Regions from separate parts of the Homo sapiens genome. Here regions 1, 3, 4, 5, 6 and 7 are each linked to region 2. Evidence: promoter capture Hi-C in 16 types of primary human blood cells and fetal thymus (Javierre and others, 2016). All regions are on one chromosome and are shown on one strand. The core of a region is centred on a gene start or on the middle of the fragment in contact, and the rest is flanking DNA. Distances in the headings are between cores, read along the strand shown. Region 1 overlaps ZNF774 (zinc finger protein 774). Region 2 holds the start of CRTC3 (CREB regulated transcription coactivator 3). Region 3 overlaps BLM (BLM RecQ like helicase). Region 4 overlaps CRTC3-AS1 (CRTC3 antisense RNA 1). Region 5 has its middle 34 kb from the start of NGRN. Region 6 overlaps BLM (BLM RecQ like helicase). Region 7 has its middle 27 kb from the start of ZNF774.

Region 1 (3,021 bases), core at 496-2,995, 170 kb before region 2:
CAAATACACGTTAGAGCTCCCCAGGTGTTCTTCCATACCTAGGCAGGGAGTAGGGCTTGGATTTTGCTCAGGCCTTGTGTGATTGGCTCAGACTCACATCCTATGTTTACATTCCTGTGTAGAATTTCCAGGCCTAGTGTAATCTCCCAGCCGGAGCAGAAAGAAGAGCCATGGGTCCTACCACTCCAAAACTTTGAGGCGAGGAAGATCCCGAGGGAAAGCCACACAGGTGAGATGTGAGTGCTCCCCAGTGGAAGGAAATCTAGCATTTCAGCCTTGTTTAGATGAAGAATTTGGAATGCTGCCTTAGAATTTTGTTCTTACTAGCAGACATTTTTTTTTTTTTTTTTTTTTTGAGACGGAGTCTCGCTCTGTCGCCCAGGCCGGACTGCGGACTGCAGTGGCGCAATCTCGGCTCACTGCAAGCTCCGCTTCCCGGGTTCACGCCATTCTCCTGCCTCAGCCTCCCGAGTAGCTGGGACTACAGGCGCCCGCCACCGCGCCCGGCTAATTTTTTGTATTTTTAGTAGAGACGGGGTTTCACCTTGTTAGCCAGGATGGTCTCGATCTCCTGACCTCATGATCCACCCGCCTCGGCCTCCCAAAGTGCTGGGATTACAGGCGTGAGCCACCGCGCCCGGCCACTAGCAGACATTTAAATTTGACTTAATGGTCAGTAGTTGACTAAATAAAGTCTTCATTTTGATTAAGCATTTCACTTTTGTCTAACCTATGTTTTTTTTTGAGATGGAGTCTCCCTCTGTCTCCCAGCCTGGAGTGCAGTGACACAATCTCTGCTCACTGCAACCTCCGCCTCCCGGGTTCAAGTGATTGTCCTGCCTCAGCCTCCCAAGTAGCTGGGACTATAGGCACCCGCCACCACGCCCAGCTAATTTTCATATTTTTAGTAGGGATGGAGTTTCACCACGTTGGCCAGGTTGGTCTCGAACTCCCAACCTCAAGTGATCTGCCTGCCTCGGCCTCCCGAAGTGCTGGGATTATAGGCGTGAGCCACCACGCCTGGCCTAAACCTATAATATCTTCTAAAGAAACCGCACAATATTGACAATATGTGGTCTCCGCTTGAAGGATATCAAGATTCATCTGGCCATCTTAAAATTTAAAAAGTTTAGGAATTCACGTGTTCTGACAGCTCAATGAACCTCAATAAACTTTTCACAAAGTGAAAACAGAGCGGTTGAATTAAGTGCAGTCTGCTGCAGAAACAGGGATTTTAATCTTTGTCACTGCTTTCTGATATTCCTTCCTGATAACTGATAACTTTATTCTCTGTTACTTACATTAATTTTTCAGACTGTGAGCATCAGGTGGCAAAGCTCAATCAGGACAATTCTGAAACAGCAGAACAATGTGGAACATCCTCAGAAAGGACCAATAAAGATCTTTCTCATACTCTTAGTTGGGGAGGAAACTGGGAGCAAGGCCTAGAATTAGAAGGGCAACATGGAACCCTTCCAGGAGAGGGCCAGCTGGAGTCCTTTTCACAGGAGAGGGATTTAAACAAGCTCCTGGATGGATATGTAGGAGAGAAGCCTATGTGTGCAGAATGCGGGAAAAGCTTTAACCAGAGTTCCTATCTCATAAGACACCTAAGAACCCACACTGGCGAGAGGCCCTATACGTGCATTGAGTGTGGGAAAGGCTTCAAACAGAGCTCAGACCTTGTCACCCATCGCAGAACACACACAGGAGAGAAGCCCTACCAATGCAAGGGGTGTGAGAAGAAATTCAGCGACAGCTCAACACTCATCAAACATCAGAGAACCCACACAGGGGAGAGACCCTATGAGTGCCCAGAGTGTGGAAAGACTTTTGGGCGGAAGCCACACCTCATAATGCACCAAAGAACCCACACAGGCGAGAAGCCCTACGCGTGCCTGGAATGTCACAAAAGCTTCAGTCGAAGCTCAAATTTCATCACTCACCAGAGGACCCACACAGGGGTGAAGCCTTACAGGTGTAATGACTGTGGGGAGAGTTTTAGCCAGAGCTCGGATTTGATTAAGCACCAACGAACCCACACGGGAGAACGGCCCTTCAAATGCCCGGAGTGCGGGAAGGGCTTCAGAGATAGTTCTCATTTTGTAGCTCACATGAGCACTCATTCAGGAGAGAGGCCTTTCAGTTGTCCTGACTGCCACAAAAGCTTCAGTCAGAGCTCACATTTGGTCACGCACCAAAGAACACACACAGGTGAGAGACCTTTTAAGTGCGAAAACTGTGGGAAAGGATTCGCCGACAGCTCCGCCCTCATTAAGCACCAACGAATCCACACCGGAGAAAGACCCTACAAATGTGGAGAGTGTGGGAAGAGCTTCAATCAGAGCTCCCACTTTATTACCCATCAGCGAATCCACTTAGGAGACAGGCCCTATCGATGTCCTGAGTGTGGCAAGACCTTCAATCAGCGTTCCCATTTCCTCACACACCAGAGAACGCATACAGGAGAAAAACCTTTCCACTGTAGTAAATGTAACAAGAGCTTCCGTCAGAAAGCGCATCTTTTATGCCATCAAAACACCCATTTGATTTAGGAAGTAGTCTTTGGTGTTCAGCTGCTCCCTTGCACATTTTCATTGCTACTGTCTTCAAGCACCCCAAATAGAGAAAACCTGGGCGTCAGTGGCTCAATTTGGGCCCTGATCTATTCTCCCTCTTTCTTGTCTATGTTATAACAGAGAGGATAAACTTAAAGGGTCCAAATAACGGTCCGAATACAAAAGGCATTCCTTCAGTGTGTGACTGACTCTTAGGGAAATGTGAGTTTAATAGTTGATGCCCGCCAGGCGTGGTGGCTCACCCCTGTAATCCCAGCACTTTTGGGAGGCCAAGGTGGGTGGATCACTTGAGGTCAGGAGTTGAGACCAGCCTGGTGAGCATGGTGAAACCTCATCTCTACTAAAAATGCAAAAATTAGCTGGGCATGGTGGCACGTGCCTGTAGTCCCAGCTACTCGGGAGGCCGAGGCAGAAGAATCATTTGAACTCAGAAGGTGCAGGT
Region 2 (3,375 bases), core at 395-2,894:
CAATTATAATTAATAAAAATAGCTAAATTCTAGCTAACAGAGATATATTTTCAGAATACATTTTCTAAAAAGTCCAGTTATAGGCTATGTCTGAGAGACAGGTGAAAAACATAATGGAATATTATCATATAAATGAATTGACACAAATATATCTCGAAAACATAATGGAGAATGAAAAAAGATGCAAAATGATTATTCAGTATGGTGTCATTTTTGTAAAGTTTAAAAACAAAATTAGGTATTCCATATAGCATTGCTGGATCTCTACATCATATGTAATAAAAGTATAAAAACACAAACTGGAATGATATGTACCAACTTGAGCACGGTGACTATCTGTGGGGCGGAAGAAGAAATGAGAGTGGGGCCGTCGTTATGACTAATTTTGTATGTCTTTAATAAATCCCAAGTACATGCAGCAAAATGTATTGATGTCTGTTTAATCTTGATAGTGGGGGGCGTGGGTAGTATTAATATTATTTTCCGTACTCTTCCGTAGGCCTCTAATATTTCCCTCTTTACAGAACACTGACACACGCTCAGGGCTCCCCGGGACATCTTTGTGCACATCAACATTTATGCTGAGAGTAGCTTCTGGACTCCAAAGAGGAAACTCCCCGGGCACTGTGGCCCACGCCTGTTATCCCAGCACTTTGGGAGGCTGAGGTGGGCAGATCGCTTGAGCCCAGGCGTTCGAGACCAGCCTGGGCAAAATAGCGAGACCCACCCCCGCCCCCCATTGCTACAAAAACATTTACAAACTAGCCGGGCGTGGTGACCCCCGCCTGTGGTCCCAGCTGGTCGGGAGGCTGAGGTGGGAGGATCTTTTGAGCCCGGGAGGTCAAGGCCGCGGTGAGTCGAGATCGCACCACTACACTCCAGACCGGGCGACAGAGAAAGACATCCATTCACTCCCCCAAAAGAAGGGGAAATTCGCTGAGGCTGAGCGCTGGTTTCCCAAGGTGGGGCTGGCACCTGCTGAAGCTGCCACAGGAGTGGAGAGGCCGTAGGGAGACTTGGAAAGAACCTGGAAAGGGGGCCGGGGCTATGGAGCCAAGGCTGCAGCAGGGCTGGATGGTGTTTGTAGTTTGTGCAGAATAGGAGGCAGTTTTTAAAGCCGAGATACAGCTCTGGTTGACTGGAGCGGGGAGGGGTGGGTGTGAGAGGTCAGGAAACCAGCGGCTGGAGGCCGGGGGCCTGGAGCGGCAGGGCTGGCGGGCAGACGTTAGGCCCCAGGCAAAATGGGCGCACCCCCTGCGGGGGCCCGAGGTGACCTGCTCGAGGTCCGGTCGCCCAGGTTCCACCTGGAGAAGAAAATCTTCGTAATTTGGCTGGGGGAGGGGGGATGCGGGCACAGGCTGTGTTCTCCACGTCGCGTAGACGCAGAGGCCATCCCTGGGTCGGAGAGTCTCCGTGGAGTGGCACCCCAGCGTTCCCCGTACGCCGGGGCCACTTTGTCGGGCTGACGGGGGTCCCTCCAGGTGGCCGCCGGCGGCGGGTCCCGAGCCAGACCGGGAAGCGGGGAGCAGCCCTCAGCCCGCGAGCGTGGGGCCGGGGCAGACTGGAGGCCGGGCGGGCCCCGCCGAGGGTGGGGCGGGGCCGGGCGCACGGGGGCGGACCTCGGCGCGCTCCCGGCCGCTCGCTGGCTCCGGGGCCGCGGCGGCTCCTCTGCCGGGTCGCGCCGGACGACTGGCTTCGGGCGGCGGCCCCGGCGGCCTGTGGACGGACGGGTGGGCCGAGGTACAGGCCCCACGGCCGCCGTCTCCCGCTTCTGCCCGCGCAGAGTCCGCGCCATGGCCGCCTCGCCGGGCTCGGGCAGCGCCAACCCGCGGAAGTTCAGTGAGAAGATCGCGCTGCACACGCAGAGACAGGCCGAGGAGACGCGGGCCTTCGAGCAGCTCATGACCGACCTCACCCTGTCGCGGGTGAGGGCCCGGGCCGGCGCGGGCGGGGGCGGCCACGGCCGCGGGCGGGACCCGCGCGGCGGGTGAGAGGTTGCGGGGCCAAGGCGATGGCGGGGCCGGGCGGGGGCCGCGCCCGGGAACCGGCGGCTGGGAGGGGGACCGGAGCGGCCGCGGCCTCGGCGTTTCCCCGCCTGGCGACACCCGCTAGCCGTTCGCGATCCCGGGCTGAGGTGGGAGGGTCGCCCGGCCCCGTGTGCGGGAAGATGGGCAGGGGTGAAGCCCGTGGAGGCGGGCGGCCGTGCGAGGGCGGCCTGAGGGGGAGGAGGACGAGGAGCCCCGAGAGGAAATCGCAAACAGCTCGGAGGCCGGCCGGGTGGCGCGGCGCGGCTTCTGGTCGCTCCGAACATCCCCCACCATCGAGCCCTGCTGTTCTGCCGGCGTGGAAGGCCGCGGGCACCCCAGGGTCCCACGCGCTCGTGGGGGGAGCTCTGTGCACAAGTCCATCCAGGGCCCGGCCCTGGGGTGGCTCGGGTTGTTGGAACCACGACGGGATTCCGTGTCGAGTGTGAGGCTCTGCTCCTTTTACTCCTTGGAGGTGCTTTATCGGGTCCAGTTTACTTTGTTCGGCCCGGGATATTTAGTGAGAACTGACAAGCGTCGCTGGTGACTGGAGAGGGACCTGGAGGAATGAGTAAGGCGCGAGCCGGGACAAACACCTGGAGAGGTTAGGTAACCGCTGAGTGAGGCAGTGGAGGATGGAGAGCCAACCGGAGTGTCCGCGCAGGGTTGCAGAGAAGGGGGGTCAGCAGGAGTGGGGCTGGCCTTGAGGATCCTGAATGCTGACCTTGGAGGACCATCGGGAGGATGGGGGAGGATCTGCAGATTCTGGGGGACTGAGGCGGGGGAGACAGTTTGAAGGAGAGCTGAGAGCAGAGTTGCAAACCAGCTGAGTTGCAGACACATTATTTTTTGGCCAGCGCAGTGTTTGGGAAAAATTATTGAATCTGTTGCCAGAATTTTTAAATTGGAAGACTTCCACACAAAATCCAAATTTCCGTATTATTTATTTATTATTATTTATATATGTTAAAAATTGGGAGACCTGGTAACACTAATTCTGAATTCCTACATGACAGCTACCGACCTGCTGGAGCTGGGTGATGATGAAAGGGAGCTGAGCTGAGCTCCCTTTCAAATGGAGTAAGAACTCTAGTTTGCCACCGTCCACTCTCTGTCACAGTCCCCCAAGGGGAGATTAGGTGACAGTTGCCATTTATACTCATGATGGTGTTTTCTTTCAGTGAAGTTAAGGAAAAAGTGAAATATTTCCTGTACTTACATTTCTGTTCACATTGAGAAAAAATATATATATAGAGAGAAAGAAGCTGAAGATTTCAAGAAAATGTTTTCTTATACCCTATCAGCTTCACTCATTTTTTACCTGCCTGGCATCCACTGGCATTTACATCTG
Region 3 (3,014 bases), core at 387-2,886, 240 kb after region 2:
CCAGTCTCCAGCACTTGGTACATAATTGGCACTCAGTAATAATCAATAAATGAAAAATGTGAAGGAATTTGGGTAAATGTAAAAATGTAGGCATGTCTGTTGACTCCTTAATGTGTTTGGCACTTCTCTGCATTTGGAAGTAGGAAATTTTAAGGAATACTTTCTGGGACTCTGTTTCCTGATCTTTTCTGCCAGTAGGCCCTGGTTTGGATTAAATTTGCTCAACTGCTGCTATGTCGTGGCCCTGGCGAAGTCAGGTATTCCTAAGGTTGAAGCCACAGCCCCTGTGCTGCTCTCCTCCCGCCAGTCTGTAATAATATTCTTCCTCTTTGGGAAATATAAGGCACACAAAAAAGGCTTTATTCCATTTCCTTAGGGCCTTAAAATATGAACTGGAAGAGAGCAAAGAGACAGGCACATAGAGTTAACTATAATAGAACAATAATAATAGCTAACACTTACATATCCAGCCTACTCAGTGTGCCAGGCACTGTTGTCATTTTAAGTGTATTTACCTCCTTGTCCACACAAAAGCAAGGTAGGTACTCCTATTTTCCTCATTCTACAGGTGAGGAAATTGAGACACAAAGAGATTATATAACTTCATATGCCTAGCAAGGGTTGGAGTGAGAACTTAAAACACCAGATAGCTGGTTTCAGAATCCTTTAAATACTAGGTCAAATTGCAGAAAGAAGAAAGCAGTGATTTGAGATGTAAATTACAGCTGCAGGAACTGAAGAAGACAAGATAAGCTAGAACCCCCAGTAACAGCTGTTACAAGGAGGGGTCAGATCAAGTTTTGTAAAGGCACTGGGCATTGTAGGAGGAGTAGTTTATTTAAAAGCATAGGTTGGGCATGGTGACTCACGCCTGTAATCCCAGCACTTTGGGAGGCCAAGGTGGGCGGATCACCTGAGGTCACGAGTTCAAGACCAGACTGACCAACAAGGAGAAACCCCGTCTCTACTAAAAATACAAAACTAGCCGGGCCTGGTGGTGCATACCTGTAATCCCAGCTACTGGGGAAGCTGAGGCAGGAGAATCACTTGAACCCGGGAGGCGGAGGTTGCAGGGAGCCGAGATTGCACCACTGCACCCCAGCCTGGGCAACAAGAGCGAGACTGTCTCAAAAAAAAAAAAAAAAAAAAAAAAGATAAAAGCGTAGACAGCAGCCGAGCGCAGTGGCTCACAGCTGTAATCCCAGCACTTTGGGAGGCCAAGGGAGACGGATCACCTGAGGTCAGGAGTTGAAGACCAGCCTGGCCAACATGTTGAAACCCCATCTCTACTAAAAATATAAAAATTAACCAGGTGTGGTGGTGGGCGCCTGTAATACCAGCTACTTGAAAGGCTGAGACAGGAAAATTGGTTGTACCTGGGAGGCGGAGGTTGCAGTGATCCAAGATCATACGACTGCACTCCAGCCTGGGTGATAGAGCGAGACTCCATCTGAAAAACAAACAAACAAAAAAAGGCTTAAACAGCTGTATTGAAATAAAATTTACATACCATAAAATTCACCTAAAGTTGACACTTCAATGGCCTTTTTTTTTTTTTTTTTTTTTTTTAGTTTATAAGGTTGTGCAGCCATCACCATTATCTAATTTTAGAACATTTTTGTCTCTGTTGAAAGGGAGAGTATACCCATTAGCAGTCAATTCCTACTTTCTCACTTTCCCCATTCTTAGGCAACCCCTCATCTACTTTCTGTCTCTGTAGGTTTGCGCCTATTCTGGACATTTCATATAAATGGAATCACATAACATGTGGCCTTTTGTGACTGACTTCTTTCACTGAGCATGTTTTTAAGGTTCCTCCATGTTGTAGCCTGTTTTCAGTATTTCATTCCTTTCTATTTTCAGATAATATTCCATTTTATGGATCCTACTTTCTGTTTTATTTGCCCATTCATCATTTGATGGATGTTCAAGCTGTTTCAGTGTTTTGGTTTTTTTGAATAATGCTGCTGTGAACATTTGTGTAGAAGTTGTTCTGTGGTCATCAGTTTTATTTCTCTTGGGTTGCTGGGTCTGTGGTAACTGTATGATTAACCTTTTCAATTCAAGGACTACTAAACTAGTTTTCAAAGTGCCTCCGTCTTTTTTTTTTTTTTTTTTTTTTTTTTGAGGCGGAGTCTCACTCTGTCACCCAGGCTGGAGTGCAGTGGTGCAATCTCGGCTCACTACAACCTCCACCTCCTGGGTTCAAGCGATTCTCCTGCCTCAGCCTCCCAAGTAGCTGGGACTATTTTTGTATTTTTGTATTTTTCTAATTTTGTATTTTTAGTAGAGATGGGGTTTCACCATGTTGGCCAGGCTGTTCTCAAACTCCTGACCTCAGGTGATCCACCCATCTCGACCTCCCAAAGTGCTGGGCTTATAGGTGTGAGCCACTGCACCCGACCGCCTCCATCATTTTATATTACCTTCAGCAGTGTGTGGGGGTTGCAGTTTTTCCACATGCTTATCAACACTTGTTACTGTCTTTTTTTATTACAGCTATATGAAGTGGTAGGTGAACGGCATTTTAGCAGGCAAAGAGTGAAAATTCAGGGCTGAAGTTTCTGTTATAAAAGTACAGGTCAGGCCAGGCTCGGTGGCTCATGCCTGTAATCCCAGCACTTTGGGTGGCCGAGGCGGGTGGATCACCTGAGGTCAGGAGTTGGAGACCAGCCTGGCCAACATGGTGAAACCCCATCTCTACTAAAAATACAAAAATTAGCCGGGCGTGGTGGCATGCACCTATAGTCGCAGCTACTCGGGAGGCTGAGACAGGAGAATTGCTTGAAACCAGAAAGTGGAGGTTGCAGTGAGCCGAGATCATGCCACTACACTCCAGCCAAAAAAAAAAAAAAAAAGTACAGGTCAGGCCCAAGGAATGGTGAATAATCCATTGGATAAGTGGAGAAACATAGAGAAGGGATGACCCTGACAAGGTGGCTTGACGCCAGATCATGGAGGATCTTGCATATAACGATGGTAAAATGTTTGGACTTTATTCTTTTGGCACTTTA
Region 4 (3,285 bases), core at 750-3,249, 180 kb after region 2:
ATTATATTACAAACCCTCCAACTAGTCCCAAGTCCATACCTCTAACTACCCCCTTTTTCTAACACAAAGCCAATATTTCCCCTGCCCTAAATTAACCCAAGGCTAGGTACTACAGAACCCCTAGAGATACCGCTAATCTCCAAAACCCACCAGAATTATTCAGACCACCCAGTCCCAAACTTTCCCTGCACTGCCTTGCCTTCCCTGCTGAAACGCTAATAAAGGTTCTCGTTTAAGCTTTCCCTTCACTCCCTTCTGCCTCCTGACCAAACCTGGTGCTTCTTCTCCATGTGGCCCTGCATGGCGTGGTGTGTCCCTCCTCTCAGGAAATGTGGATAAATTATTCCTTCAAAGCCACTAGTCTCTCTGTCATCAGTCAGTCGCTTCTATAAATTAAAATCCTACAGGTACAACTGAGAGAGGGGCTGCTGCGACTGAGTTTTCAGTCCTGGAAAACCACACTTTTTTTTTCTGTCTCTGCAAGGCTTTGGCAGTCTCTCCTCTCCACCCCCTTATTAATGCTGGCCTCTGTTTCACAGGTACCTCTCTACACGAGCAGGTGCAAATTGTCACTGATGGGGGAAACATGAAACAAACTCAGATGCCTCCAGGGACACGTGAGAAGCCACACTTGTTTCAGCCTATTGTTCTCTTGAGGGAATGTGGGCCCTGTGATGATGCTAGATCTTTCTTTTCTTTCTGTACCTTCCTCTCTTCTTCCCTCTCTCCTTCCTTCCCTCCTTCTCTCCTTCCCTCACACCCTCCCTCCCTTTCTTCTTTCCTCTTTTTTAAGAAAAACTGAAAATCTATTTCTGTTTTGATTGGAGCTTTTGTGTGTGTGTAAAATATGTTGTGTGTGTGTTTTTTTTTTCCACAGCAACTGCTTTTTGTGTGTGTGGTAAAATATGTATGAAATAAACTGCCATTTTAACCTTTTTATGAGTAGAACTCAATGGCATTAATTACATTCAAAATGCTGTACAGCCATTGCCACAATTTCTAAACTTTTTCATCCCCCCAAATGGAAACTATGAACCCAGTAAGCAATAATTCCTCATTCTTCCCTCCTTCCTACTCTCAGTTCCTGAAACCTCTAATCTACTTTCTGTCTCTATGAATTTGCCTATTCAAAATCTTTCATATAAATGGAGTCAGATCGTATTTGTTTTTTTGTGTTGGCATATTTGACTCAGAATGTTGTAGCATGTGTCAGAGCTTCACTCCTTTTCATGGCCGAATGATACTCCACTGTATGGATATACTACTTTTTTTTTTTTTTTTTTTGAGATGGAGCCTCGCTCTGTTGCCCAGGCTGGAGTGCAGTGGCACGATCTTGGCTCACTACAACCTCCACCTGCCAGGTTCAAGCAATTCTCCTGCCTCAGCCTCCCGAGTAGCTGGGGTTACAGGAACACGCCACCATGCCCGGCTAACTTTTTTGTATTTTTAGTAGAGACAGGGTTTCACTATGTTGGCCAGGCTGGTCTGGAACTCCTGACTTCAAGTGATCCACCCACCTCAGCCTCCCAAACTGCTGGGATTACAGGTGTGGGCCACTGTGCCCAGCTTATTAGATATACCACATTTTGTTTATTCATTCATCTGTTAATGAACATGTGGGTGAAATATGTCAATTTTTACTTGTTGCAAAAACAAAACACACCTTTTTTTTTTTTTTTTTTTTTTGAGACGGAGTCTCGCTCTGTGCCCCAGGCTGGAGTGCAGTGGCGCGATCTCGGCTCACTGCAAGCTCCACCTCCCAGGTTCATGCCATTCTCCTGCCTCAGCCTCCCGAGTAGCTGGGACTACAGGCGTGTGCCATGACACCTGGCTAATTTTTGTATTTTTAGTAGAGACGGCGTTTCACCATGTTAGCCACGATGGTCTCAATGTCCTGACCTCGTGATCTGCCTGCCTCGGCCTCCCAAAGTGCTGGGATTACAGGCATGAGCCACCGCGCCTGGCCAAAACACATCATTGTTAAATAACTCCTCAGGCTACCCTTCTCTATGGGAAAATGCAGAGTAAATCAACAGATTTTTAATAGCAAAATGGCCAAGGAAAAAGCAGGATAGAGACAACGCAAAGATACAAACAATCTACCAAATGAATAAAGCCACTAATGTTACTTAGGCTCAAACAGTATCCCCCAAAGTGAGAGGCTGGATACTCACAACTCGATAAAGGGTGACATTCACCTGATATTGTTGCTGTCTCACATGGCCTTAATCATCTTATTGCTTTTGTCTTCACTGTTCTTCAATTTTGTGCCCTTCTCTAGTGCCAGCCATTGTGGTAGGCCCTGAAGAACACCCTCATGGAGAGCATATTCTGTAGAGGAAGACAGGCACACTAATAGTATCAACACAACCAATACAAATGCTGACTGCTGTTATGGGAAAACCTAGGAGGGATACACAGGCAGATTTGGAGGATTAGGTAAGGCTTTCCAACTTCCCAACTTCTCCAACAACTTGCAGAGAAGTTGTCCTGAGACCTGAGAGATGAATGAGAGGTATGATTTGGAGGCAAAGGCCAGGAAACTGGAAAGACTATAAAACACCTTGAGGAAATGACAGGAAAATGGGGATGAGGGACAGATGACATATGAGAGGAAGCAGGGACTCAATCGGAGTTTGGTATTCACCTTGAAGGCAAATGGGAGCTGCTGGAAGGATTCTGTGTTTTTTTTTTTTTTGAGACAGATTCTCACTGCTGCCCAGGGTGGAGTGCAGTGGTGTGATCTCAGCTCACTGCAACCTTTACCTCCCACCTGGAAGGTAGATGTTAGCGTAGGGTGGTGAAAGGCTTGTGCACTCATCTTAATCTTAAATATATACCTTGGCCAGGCAAGGAGGCTCACGGCTGTAATCCCAGCACTTTTGGAGGCTGAGGCTGGCAGATCGCCTAAGGCCAGGAGTTTGAGACCAGCCTGGGCAACATGGCAAAACCCCATTTCTACTAAAAATACAAAAATTACCCAGGCGTGGTGGCATGTGCCTGTGGTCCTAGCTACTCAGGAGGCTGAGGTGGGTGAATTACTTGAGCCTGGGAGGTGGAGGTTGCACTGAGCCAAGATGGCACCACTGCATTCCAGTCTGGGCAACAGAGGCAGACCCTGTCTCAAAAAATAAAAATAAATTTTAAAAAATTGAAAAAATACATATCTCAATGATTGTATGTATATAATGATTTTATATATAAATGATTTATATATTACTTTATCTATATTAAATGTCTATATAAGACAGATATGTAATTTCCAGCACTCCATAAGATTTCCTT
Region 5 (3,179 bases), core at 129-2,628, 230 kb before region 2:
GAATGATAAACTGTTAGACCAAATAATGTGGCTAATTAACAGTGGTACGATTTCTAGCCCGAGGGTTTAAAATGGACTTAAGGTCCTGTTGTTGCCTTTTATTTTCTGAACTTGCTGCTTTTGCATTCTTTGAGTTCAGTTTAAAGACAGTTACTTTAAGTCCATTTTAAACCCTCGGGCTAGAAATCGTACCACTGTCAATTAGCCACATTATTTGGTCTAACAGTTTTTCTTTATCATTCTGAAACTGGGTTTATCTGATACATTGATAAATTATTTCAAAGGTATTTTAATAGTTCAAATCACTTCACTTTTACATTGATAAATGTAAATGACTAGGAATGACCTTCGGATAGCGTTTAGCATCTGTAATCAATCTGACAATAATGTGTTCATCAGGTACCTCTGGATTAACTCACATACCGGCATACTTAAGCTGAATGTCTGTCTGGAAATAAATTTACTATATTAACTGAGATACTACTTTTTGTGTAGGTATTTTTGTCATATATTTAAGAAAAAGCTAACAAGGATGGAAATCATATTATAATAACTTAAGTCTTTCTTCAAAGGGCATGCAGTCTTTTGCAATACCTCATTCAGCCAGATATTTGTTCTCTTTCTCATTCAGTATAAGACAGCTTTCAATTTGCTTAGCAGGCAACATTAGAAGGTTAGAGTTCATGGAAACATAGAATTTTAAAATGTGAGTTCAACCGAATAAATTTGAATTTCTGTAGGAGGTAAAGAATCAAAATACTTGTTTATTTAAAGGTTGCAGTATATGATAATCATTTTGAAGTATTTGATTAATACTAATAGGTTTTCCAGAACTGAAAAACTAATGTTAAAACCAAAGCTGATTTCTAGAAAATTTGAAAATGTAAATCAGCCTTATCCAGAATATAGTTTCTCTAAAACTTTCTTAGTCATTTTACAATAGTATAACTATTAAAAAATGTAACTGCTATTTTAATGTTTTGAAATAAATTAAAACATTTTAAAATATGAATACTGTAGCTTAAAAGAAAGAAACTAGGGGAAGGAAAAGTAAAGAAAGAAATGCCAATTCCAGTCCAAAACTTTATTTGCCAAGTTTTCTTATAATGACTTACCAATTTAGGAATTCTTGTAAACAGAATCTATAATGGAAATACTGAAAGACTTTTGCCTAAAGTGGCATTATTGAATACTGCTGTGATGCTACTGTATGTAATAAATTATTGTTGCAAAGTGCTGTTTTTGCCTTAAATTTTTATTTTGTGTGTCTTGAAAACTATAGTATTAAAGGTATTGAGATTGTGCAAATGCCAGGCATGCTTGGCATGAAATAGTGTTTTTATTTTTACAAAATTGTAATATGACTATGCAAGCATTTAACTAATTAATTAATTTATTTATTTTGAGATGGAATTTCACTCTGTTGCCCAGGCCAGAGTGCAGTGGCACGATCTCGGCTCACTGCAACCTCCACCTCCTGGTTTCAAGCAGTTCTCCTGCCTCAGCCTCCCGAGTAGCTGGGACTACAGGTGCACGCCACCATGCCCAGCTAATTTTTGTATTTTTAGTAGAGATGGGGGTTTCACTATGTTGGCCAGGCTGGTCTCAAACTCCTGACCTCGTGATCTGCCCACCTCAGCCTCCCAAAGTGCTGGGATTACAGGCGTGAGCCACCGCGCCCGGCTGCAAGTGTTTACCAAAAGAACACATACTGAAAAAATAGTTATGGGATTTTAAAAAGTTAGGAGATTAAAAAAAGTTATGAGATTTAAAAAGTTATGAGATTAAAAAGTTATGGGATAAAGTTACGTTATGGGATAAAAAAGTTACGGGATAAAAAATGTTATGGTCAGTGGCTCACTGGGCTTACAGGTGTGAGCTACCGCCCTGGGCCTAGTTCCCTGCTTTTGGATGACCGCGATCTTCATCTCATCTTCACCTGTCTCCCCCATCAGACACTTCTCCAGGCTTTGCTGAAAGTGGCCTGCTTTTATTTATTTAATATTTATCACATAACTTTTTTTCGTAAAACTTTTTTTGGAATATTTTTCCATAACTTTTTCCATAACTTTTTTCCCACAACTTATTTCCAAAACTTTTTTATTTTTATTTTTTTGAGACGGAGTTTTGTTCTTGTTGCCCAGGCCGGAGTGCAATGGCACAATCTCAGCTCACCGGAACCTCCACCTCCCAGGTTCAAGAGATTCTCCTGCCTCAGCCTCCTAAGTAGCTGGGATTACAGGCATTCACCACCACGCCTGGCTAATTTTGTATTTTTAGTAGAGATGGGTTTCTCCATGTTGGTCAGGCTGGTCTCAAACTCCCTATCTCAGGTGATCCACCCACTTTGGGATCCCAGTACTTTGGGAGGCTGAGGCGGGCAGATCACCTGAGGTCAGGAGTTCAAGACCAGCCTGGCCAACATGGTGAAACCCTGTCTCTACTAAAAATACAAAAAATTAGCCAGGTGTGGTGGCGGGCGCCTGTAATCCCAGCTATTCGGGAGGCTGAGGCAGGAGAATTGCTTGAACCCGAAAGGCAGAGGTTGCAGTGAGCCCAGATGGCACCACTGTACTCCAGCCTGGGCAACAGAGCAAGACTCCATCTCAAAAAAAAAAAAAAAAAAAAAGTTACAGAAAAAACGTGATTAAAAAAAGTCATGGGATAAAAATAAAAACAAAAGCAGGCCCCTGTCAGCAAAGCCTGGAGAAGTGGGGCCAGAGGCTCCACCCCCACCATGTCCCTGCCACCCCTTCCCAGTCACCCCTTTACCATTAGAGTAGCAAGACAAGACCCCTGTCTAATAGGGAGAGACAAACAGACCCTTTGCCACCCTGGCCAGGGCTGAGTCCTTAAATTTCTGGATGATGATGATTGTTATTTAAGAGGCAGAGGCTGATGGGAGTTGGTTTGTTCGGAGGAGGCCTCATGGCCTCCTTACTTTCACCAAAGCAATTTTTCCCTCAGGCTCCCGTCTTCTTAGTCAGAGAGGCAGCTGAGGCGGGACAGTGGGGCTAACTGTAGACCAGGCAAGGGCATGAGCTGCTGAGGGTGGCCCCCCTTCCCCCATGTACACATTGTGTCTGTGTAACGTTTTATATATTCTGGGGGGTAGGGCCGCCCCTGTATAGTACCTAGTGGAGATTGGAGCTGGCACATGGCGGGGAGGTTCTAATAAT
Region 6 (3,256 bases), core at 405-2,904, 210 kb after region 2:
GCAAAGATGGTTTAACATTAGAATCATCAATGTAATTCACCATATTAATTAACCTAAGGAGAACAGTCATATATTTACTTTTATATATGCTGAAAAAGCCTTTGACAAGATTCAACACCAATATATAGTAAAAACTCTTAAGAAATTATATTGTAATCAATACTTCTTTTTTTTTTTTTGAGATGGAGTCTCACCCTGTCGCCCAGGCTGAAGTACAGTAGCATGACCTCAGCTCACTGCAACCTCCACCTCCCAGGTTCAAGCCATTCTCCTGCCTCAGCCTCCCAAGTCGCTGGGATTACAGGCGCCCACCACCACACCTGGCTAATTTTTGTATTTTTAGTAGAGATGCGGTTTCACCATCTTGGCCAGGCTGGTCTCAAAGTCCTGACCTCAGGTGATCTGCCCACCTCGGCCTCCCAAAATGCTGGGATTACAGATGTGAGCCACCATGCCTGGCCAATCAATACTTCTTAATGATGGTATTCTCTCTCTCTCTCTCTGTCTCTGTCTCTCACGCACACATACACACACACGCGCGCACGCACGCACACACACACACACACACGCAGAGAGAGAGAGAGAGAGAGAGAGAGAGAGAGAGAGACTTTATTCCTAAATCCTGTATTTTATCTAATAGGAAAATACTAGAGGCATTTTTACTAAGATTGAGAAAAATATAGAGATACTCACCAACTCCACTTGTATTTAACATTGTACTGGGGGCTTAGCCAATGCAGTTAGATAAATCAATTAGAGGCACAAGATTTGGAAAATAAAAAGTAATATTGTCCCTACTTGCAGGTGATATGGTAGTGTGTCTGGAATACTGCAGAAAATCAATAATGAAACTAACTAAACAGAAAAGGAATTTTATAAGAATATGCAAAAATCAGTAGTCTTCATATACACAACAAGTTTGAATATATAATGAAGGGTAAAATCCCATTTACAGCAACAAGAAAAAGAGAAAATATTTAGGAATTTAAAAACATGTAAAACCTAGGTGAAGAAATCTTTAAAACACTTCTGAATAACAAAAATAGCCTTAAACAAATGAAATCTTTTGTTCTAGGACAGGACAACAACATCATAAAAGTGCCTAAGTTAATATATATATATATATATATATATATATATATATATTTAAGTTAATACATATACCTAAGTTAATATATAAATTTAATGCAATCTCAATATAAATATCAACAGAGTTCTGGCACTAGACAAGTTGATTCTAAAGTTCATATAGAAAAATAAACATATAAGAATAGGAAAACAGAAGAGCTACAAAGAGAAAGTAGACTTCCAGATATTGTAACATGTTGCAAAGCTTCTATCATGATAATATTGTGGTATAGACCAATGGTATAGAATGGAAAGTCAATAATTAGTCTCCTAAACACATGAAGAATTTAGTGTATGATAAAGGTAGTTCTGAAATTATTAGGGCAGAGATGGACTCTTTATAAATAGTGCTGGGACAACTTGTTAGCCACTTGAAAAAACAAAATTATATCTATACTTTATATCAGACACAGGAATAAACTCCAAATGAACCAGAAATCTAATTTTTTTTAAATTACCTACTAGAAGAATACATAGATGAGTTTTCTGTAACCTGGATGTGGAGAAGGGCAATAAAAGAGGGGGAAAAATTGGCTACATTGAAAAGCAAATTCTTGATTACAAAAATGAAAAACACCATAAGCAAATTTAAAAGATAGATGAGAAACCAGGAAAAAAATCTGCAAAATACATTTTAAAGACCTACTATCCCTAGTCTAAATTGAGAGAAAAAAATACTAAAATTTGGTTAAAAAGGCAGAATACATGAGCAGATACAATTTTTTAAAAAGATTCAAAAACCATCCTTAAATATGTGAAGAAAATATTCAATTTCACCTAAACAGGAAGTGTAAATTTAAAGCTGCACTGAAATACCGTTTCTCACCTATCAGCTCTGCACTAATTAGAAAGCTTCACAAGAAGCCCCATTGGTGAGGCTGTGAGGAATGCAAACTTGTAAAACCTCCTTTGAGGGAGAAGTTGGCAATCCAGCAGACTACACATGCATTTGCCCTTTGACCCAGCCATTCCACTTGTAGAAATATTCCCTAAAGATACATTTTCTTTTCTTTCTTTCCTTTTTTTTTGAGACAGGGTCTTGCTTGTTGCCCAGGCTGAAGTGCAGTAGTGTGATCTTGGCTCACTGCAGCTCAAACTCCCAGGCTCAATTGATCCCACCTTGGCCTCTGGAGTAGCTGGGACCACAAGTGCATGCCACCACGCCTTACTAATTTAAAAATTTTTTTTATAGAGACGGAGTCTCACCATGTTGCCCAGGCTGGTCTTGAACTCCTGGACTCAAGCAATCCTGTCTCTGCCTCCCAAATTGCTGGGATGACAGGTGTGAGCCACCGTGCCCGGCCTTACGTTTTCAACAGTAGGGAAATATGAATGCACAAAGTTATTTGTTGCAGCATTATTTGTAATTGTAAAATATCAGGGAATACCTTAAATGTCCATACAGGAAATTTGTTGGTAAATATCTACACAATGGAGTACTGTACAGCTGTAAAGAAGAATGAGGAAAATCTTTGCAAACGGGTGTAGAGTGATTTCTAACATGAATGGAAAGCGTACATACAGTGTGCTATTTTTTATGTAAGAAAGAAGGGAAAATATGAGACTCTAATGTCTGCTTATTTTGCAAAAAGAAAAACAGGAAAGATAAATCAGAAATTATTGAAATTGATAACCCACAGGAAGTAGATGGCAAAGGATGGAGAGGGAAGAACACTTCTCTGTGGGGAAAAACAGTCTTTTATGTAGTTTTAACTTTTAGAACTATGTAAATGTTTTATATATTCAAAAATCAAATCCACAAGAACAGTACAAACACAAACTAATCTAATTCAAATGATGAATGTAATCACCCTGAAGGTGAGGTGGGACTGACCAATCAAGTAACTTTTGAATATAGTACTTTAATTATGTACCCTTAATCTGAAGAAAGAAATGCAACTGAATTTTGAACTCTTCTTAGTAGGTTTTTTTTTTTTAGTGACAGGAGTGTAGCAATTTGAAATTACTTCCTATAGTTTCAGATTGAATAAATGAATAAATATATGATGGTTTTTTCTATGAATTTTAAGATAGATGGATAGATCAATGGATGTATAGCTGTAGATACAGAAATAGATAGAAGTGTTTATATTTCCTAGATCTGTCTACTAAAAGGGCCTAGGAGCAA
Region 7 (3,146 bases), core at 265-2,764, 200 kb before region 2:
TTTATTTGTAGAAAAGAGGTTTCTTGACTGTGCGCGGTGGCTCACGCCTATAATCCTAGCACTCTGGGAGGCCAAGGTGAGGTGGACAACTTGAGGTCAGGAGTTCGAGACCAAGGTGACAACATGGTGAAATCCCCGTCTCTACTAAAAAGACAAAATTAGCAGGGGGTGGTGGTGCATGCCTGTAATCCCAGCTACTTGGGAGGCTATTATTTTTAGTAATAATAATAATTTAGTAATTTTTGTATTTTGTATTTTCACCATGTTGGTCAGGCTTGTCTTGAACTCCTGACCTCAGGTGATTCACCCACCTCGGCCTCCCAAAGTGCTGGGATTACAGGTGTGAGCCACCACGCCCCGCCACCAAAACCAGTTTTATTGAGGCAGCAGTGTTACCGCTCTGTAACTGCTCCTGCAGGAAGAGCTAGCCCATAGTCAGTGTGTGGAGAGTAGCAGCTAAGGGGCAGTTCCACAGTCATATTTATACCCACTTTTAATTACATGCAAATTAAGGGATGGGTTTTTCAGAAATTTCTAGGAAAAGGGTATAACTCCCAGGTTGTTGCCATGGAAAGGGGCAGTAACTTCTGGGTGTTGCCAGGGCACTGGTAAACTGACATGGCACTGGTGGGCATGTGTTATGGAGAGGTGCTTTCCCCTCTTCCCTGTTTCAGCTAGTCTTCAATCTGGCCTGGAGTACAGGCCTGCCTCCTGCCTCACAACTGCTGCTAATCAGGATGTATACTGAGGGTAACTTGACTCTATGCTCCCAGTTTGCAATATCTAGCTTGGCCCAAATAGATCCTCTGTCTTACTATTGTTATTTATTTTTTTTTAAGAGAAAAGGTCTTGCTCCTGTTGCCCAGACTGGAGTGCAGTGGCAGGATCTTAGCTCACCATAACCTCGAACTCCTGGGCTCAAGCAATCCTCCTGCTTCAGCCTCCTGAGTAGCTGGGACTACAGACATGAGCCACCATGCCTGGCTAATTTTTAAATTTTTTGTACAGATGGGGTTTCACTATGCTGCCCAGGCTGTTCTCAAACTCCTGGCAAGCAATCCTCCCAACTCAGCCTCCCAGAATCCTCGATTACAGGAGTGTACCACTATGCCCAGCCCCAGATAAATTCTCTACTTATATTAATTTTGCTTCAGCTTCCTTCTAGGTTGACAGTTCCCAGTTGACTCTCAAAATGTTTGTGAAATTAAGCAATTTCACTGGGGCATGGTGGCTCACACCTGTAATCCCAGCACTTTGGGAGGCCCAGGTGGGCAGATCTCTTGAGGTCAAGAGTTTGAGACCAGACTGGCCAACATGGTAAAACCCTGTTTCTACTAAAAATCCAAAAAAAAAAAAAAAAAAAAAAAGTCAACCAGGCATGGTAGCGCACGCCTGTAATCCCAGCTACTCGGGAGGTTGAGGTGGGAGAATCACTTGAACCCAAGAGGCGGAGGTTGCAGTGAGCCGAGATCATGCCACTGCCCTTCAGCCTGGGCAACAGAGAGAGACTTCATTTAAAAAAAAAAAGGCAATTTATTTAGTGATGTAAAAGTTTTCATGGATATATAAGGGAATCAGGGAGTCCTCAAGGCGGAAGAAGGTGAAGGAACAGAGCAGGGGAGGAAGAGGAGGGAGGAGAATCTCCCCCAGGCTGAGCAGACCAGGGCACTGAGCTCCAGATGTTTGCACCCCTCCTTTGTTTTCCCCATCTCTTCCCTACTCTCCAGGCCAGTCAGATGGCAAGGCCTGGACAACTGGAAGGAAAGAGAATGAAGGATGGAACTGGGGCGGCAGCTGTGTTGGCCACACAGGCCCTTCTGACTGGGCAGCATGGAGGCCACTTCTGCCAGCCTGAGAGTTGCAGAAGTAGATGGCAGGGAATCCCCTGCTTGGGGATGACACAGTAGGTAGATTAGAAAGTTGGAGAACAGGAACCGTAAGCCACTAGCAGGAACATGGTTGAAGAGCCGACCGTGGAGTCCAGACTGAGGGAGGAGGTAGAAAAGGAACAATAAGCAAGGAAGCAGAGGAGGCTGTGGCAAGGATAATGGGCAGCCCCAGTTATTCTAAGGGAAAAGGAGAGATGGAGTTGAGAGGCTGAAATGGAAGCAGCTCTGTGATGTGGCTGGCCTTTCGAGGTTACTGGAGCAGAGGAGGTAAAGGGACCATGAGCACAGGTGGTGGTGCTGTAATTAATAAGGATGAGGCCGGGCACGGTGGCTCACACCTGTAATCCCAGCACTTCAGGAGGCCACGGCAGGTGGATCACTTGAGGTCAGGAGTTCTAGACCAGCCTGGCCAACGTGGTGAAACCCCATCTCTACTAAAAATACAAAAAATTAGCTGGGTGTGTGGCGGGCACCTATAATCCCAACTACTCAGGGGGCTGAGGCAGGAGAATCACTTGAACCCGGGACACGGAGGTTGCAGCAAGCTGAGATCGTGCCATTGGACTCCAGCCTGGGCGACAATAGCGAAACTCCGTCCCCCCACCAAAAAAAATAATAAAATAAATAAGTATGCTGAAGCCACTGAGGATGAGAGCAAGACACTGGGATAAGGGGAGCCTGGTAGCCAGGTCCTAAAGCCATTCCAGAGGGCTGCAGAATGGCCCAGAGAAGAAGTTCTCAGCTAAGGCATGGCACTAATGACTAATCGATGGTTGTAATCATTTCTTCCTTTTTTTTTTTTTTTGAAACAAGGTCTTGCTCTGTCACCCAGGCTGGAGTGCAGTGGCACAATCATGGCTCACTACAGCCTTGACTCCTGGGTTCAAGCAATCCCCCTTCCTTAGCTTCCCAAAGTAGCATTACAATCAGCACCAGGAATTGAGCCCAGCTGAACTGAGCCACCATACGCATAGCAACTACAATTGAAATCTAGATGGGCGTGCTGTGCGTGAGGCAGGTGTTGGTAGGTCAGGCTACAAATTAAGTCTCAATCAATATTATTTTATTTTATTTTTTGAGACAGGTGAAATCTGAGAACATTATAAGTGAAATAAGCCAGTCAGACAAAGACAAATACTGTACGAGTCAGCTTATATGAGGTACTTAGAGTAGTTAAAATCTTAGAGGCCAGGCATAGTGGCTCACACCTGTAATCCCAGCACTTTGGGAGGCCGAGGTGGGAGGATTGCTTGAGCC

The links. The method cuts DNA at HindIII sites, captures the fragments that hold promoters and counts their contacts. A CHiCAGO score of 5 or more calls a contact.
Region 1: a fragment that was not itself captured here is called in contact with the fragment with the promoter of CRTC3 in region 2 in 6 of 17 cell types (total B cells, activated CD4 T cells, non-activated CD4 T cells and 3 more); the score reaches 8.1 in total B cells.
Region 3: a contact is called between a fragment that was not itself captured here and the fragment with the promoter of CRTC3 in region 2, in 1 of 17 cell types (total B cells). The highest score is 5.3, in total B cells.
Region 4: a contact is called between a fragment that was not itself captured here and the fragment with the promoter of CRTC3 in region 2, in 1 of 17 cell types (activated CD4 T cells). The highest score is 6.4, in activated CD4 T cells.
Region 5: a contact is called between a fragment that was not itself captured here and the fragment with the promoter of CRTC3 in region 2, in 4 of 17 cell types (activated CD4 T cells, erythroblasts, endothelial precursors and 1 more). The highest score is 6.9, in activated CD4 T cells.
Region 6: a fragment that was not itself captured here is called in contact with the fragment with the promoter of CRTC3 in region 2 in 3 of 17 cell types (naive B cells, total B cells and activated CD4 T cells); the score reaches 7.2 in naive B cells.
Region 7: a fragment that was not itself captured here is called in contact with the fragment with the promoter of CRTC3 in region 2 in 15 of 17 cell types (activated CD4 T cells, naive CD8 T cells, total B cells and 12 more); the score reaches 11.7 in activated CD4 T cells.

What each region holds. Positions count from the first base shown.
Region 1 is chr15:90,358,729-90,361,749 of GRCh38, forward strand. It overlaps ZNF774 (zinc finger protein 774), which reads left to right. Exons shown (of 4, transcript NM_001004309.3): 3 at 123-229; 4 at 1,315-3,021. The coding sequence ends at 2,555. Among named protein-coding and RNA genes, the nearest start is that of ZNF774, 8.0 kb to the left of the region's middle. The HindIII fragment of the contact is 336 bases long and covers 1,578-1,913 here.
Region 2 is chr15:90,528,279-90,531,653 of GRCh38, forward strand. CRTC3 (CREB regulated transcription coactivator 3) reads left to right here and starts at 1,645. Exons shown (of 15, transcript NM_022769.5): 1 at 1,645-1,925. The coding sequence starts at 1,794. RefSeq lists silencers at 1,099-1,148, 1,249-1,998, 2,019-2,198 and an enhancer at 2,589-2,748. The HindIII fragment of the contact is 15,096 bases long and covers 1-3,375 here.
Region 3 is chr15:90,771,967-90,774,980 of GRCh38, forward strand. All of the region lies in intron 12 of BLM (BLM RecQ like helicase), which reads left to right. Among named protein-coding and RNA genes, the nearest start is that of BLM, 56 kb to the left of the region's middle. The HindIII fragment of the contact is 5,454 bases long and covers 1-3,014 here.
Region 4 is chr15:90,710,969-90,714,253 of GRCh38, forward strand. It overlaps CRTC3-AS1 (CRTC3 antisense RNA 1), which reads right to left. Exons shown (of 4, transcript NR_120372.1): 2 at 2,199-2,331. Among named protein-coding and RNA genes, the nearest start is that of CRTC3-AS1, 4.5 kb to the right of the region's middle. The HindIII fragment of the contact is 3,528 bases long and covers 236-3,285 here.
Region 5 is chr15:90,297,667-90,300,845 of GRCh38, forward strand. It overlaps the pseudogene GOLGA2P8. Among named protein-coding and RNA genes, the nearest start is that of NGRN, 34 kb to the left of the region's middle. RefSeq lists a silencer at 2,455-2,647 and an enhancer at 2,992-3,179. The HindIII fragment of the contact is 8,093 bases long and covers 1-3,179 here.
Region 6 is chr15:90,734,127-90,737,382 of GRCh38, forward strand. All of the region lies in intron 1 of BLM (BLM RecQ like helicase), which reads left to right. Among named protein-coding and RNA genes, the nearest start is that of BLM, 18 kb to the left of the region's middle. The HindIII fragment of the contact is 647 bases long and covers 1,332-1,978 here.
Region 7 is chr15:90,323,994-90,327,139 of GRCh38, forward strand. No RefSeq gene overlaps it. Among named protein-coding and RNA genes, the nearest start is that of ZNF774, 27 kb to the right of the region's middle. The HindIII fragment of the contact is 8,593 bases long and covers 1-3,146 here.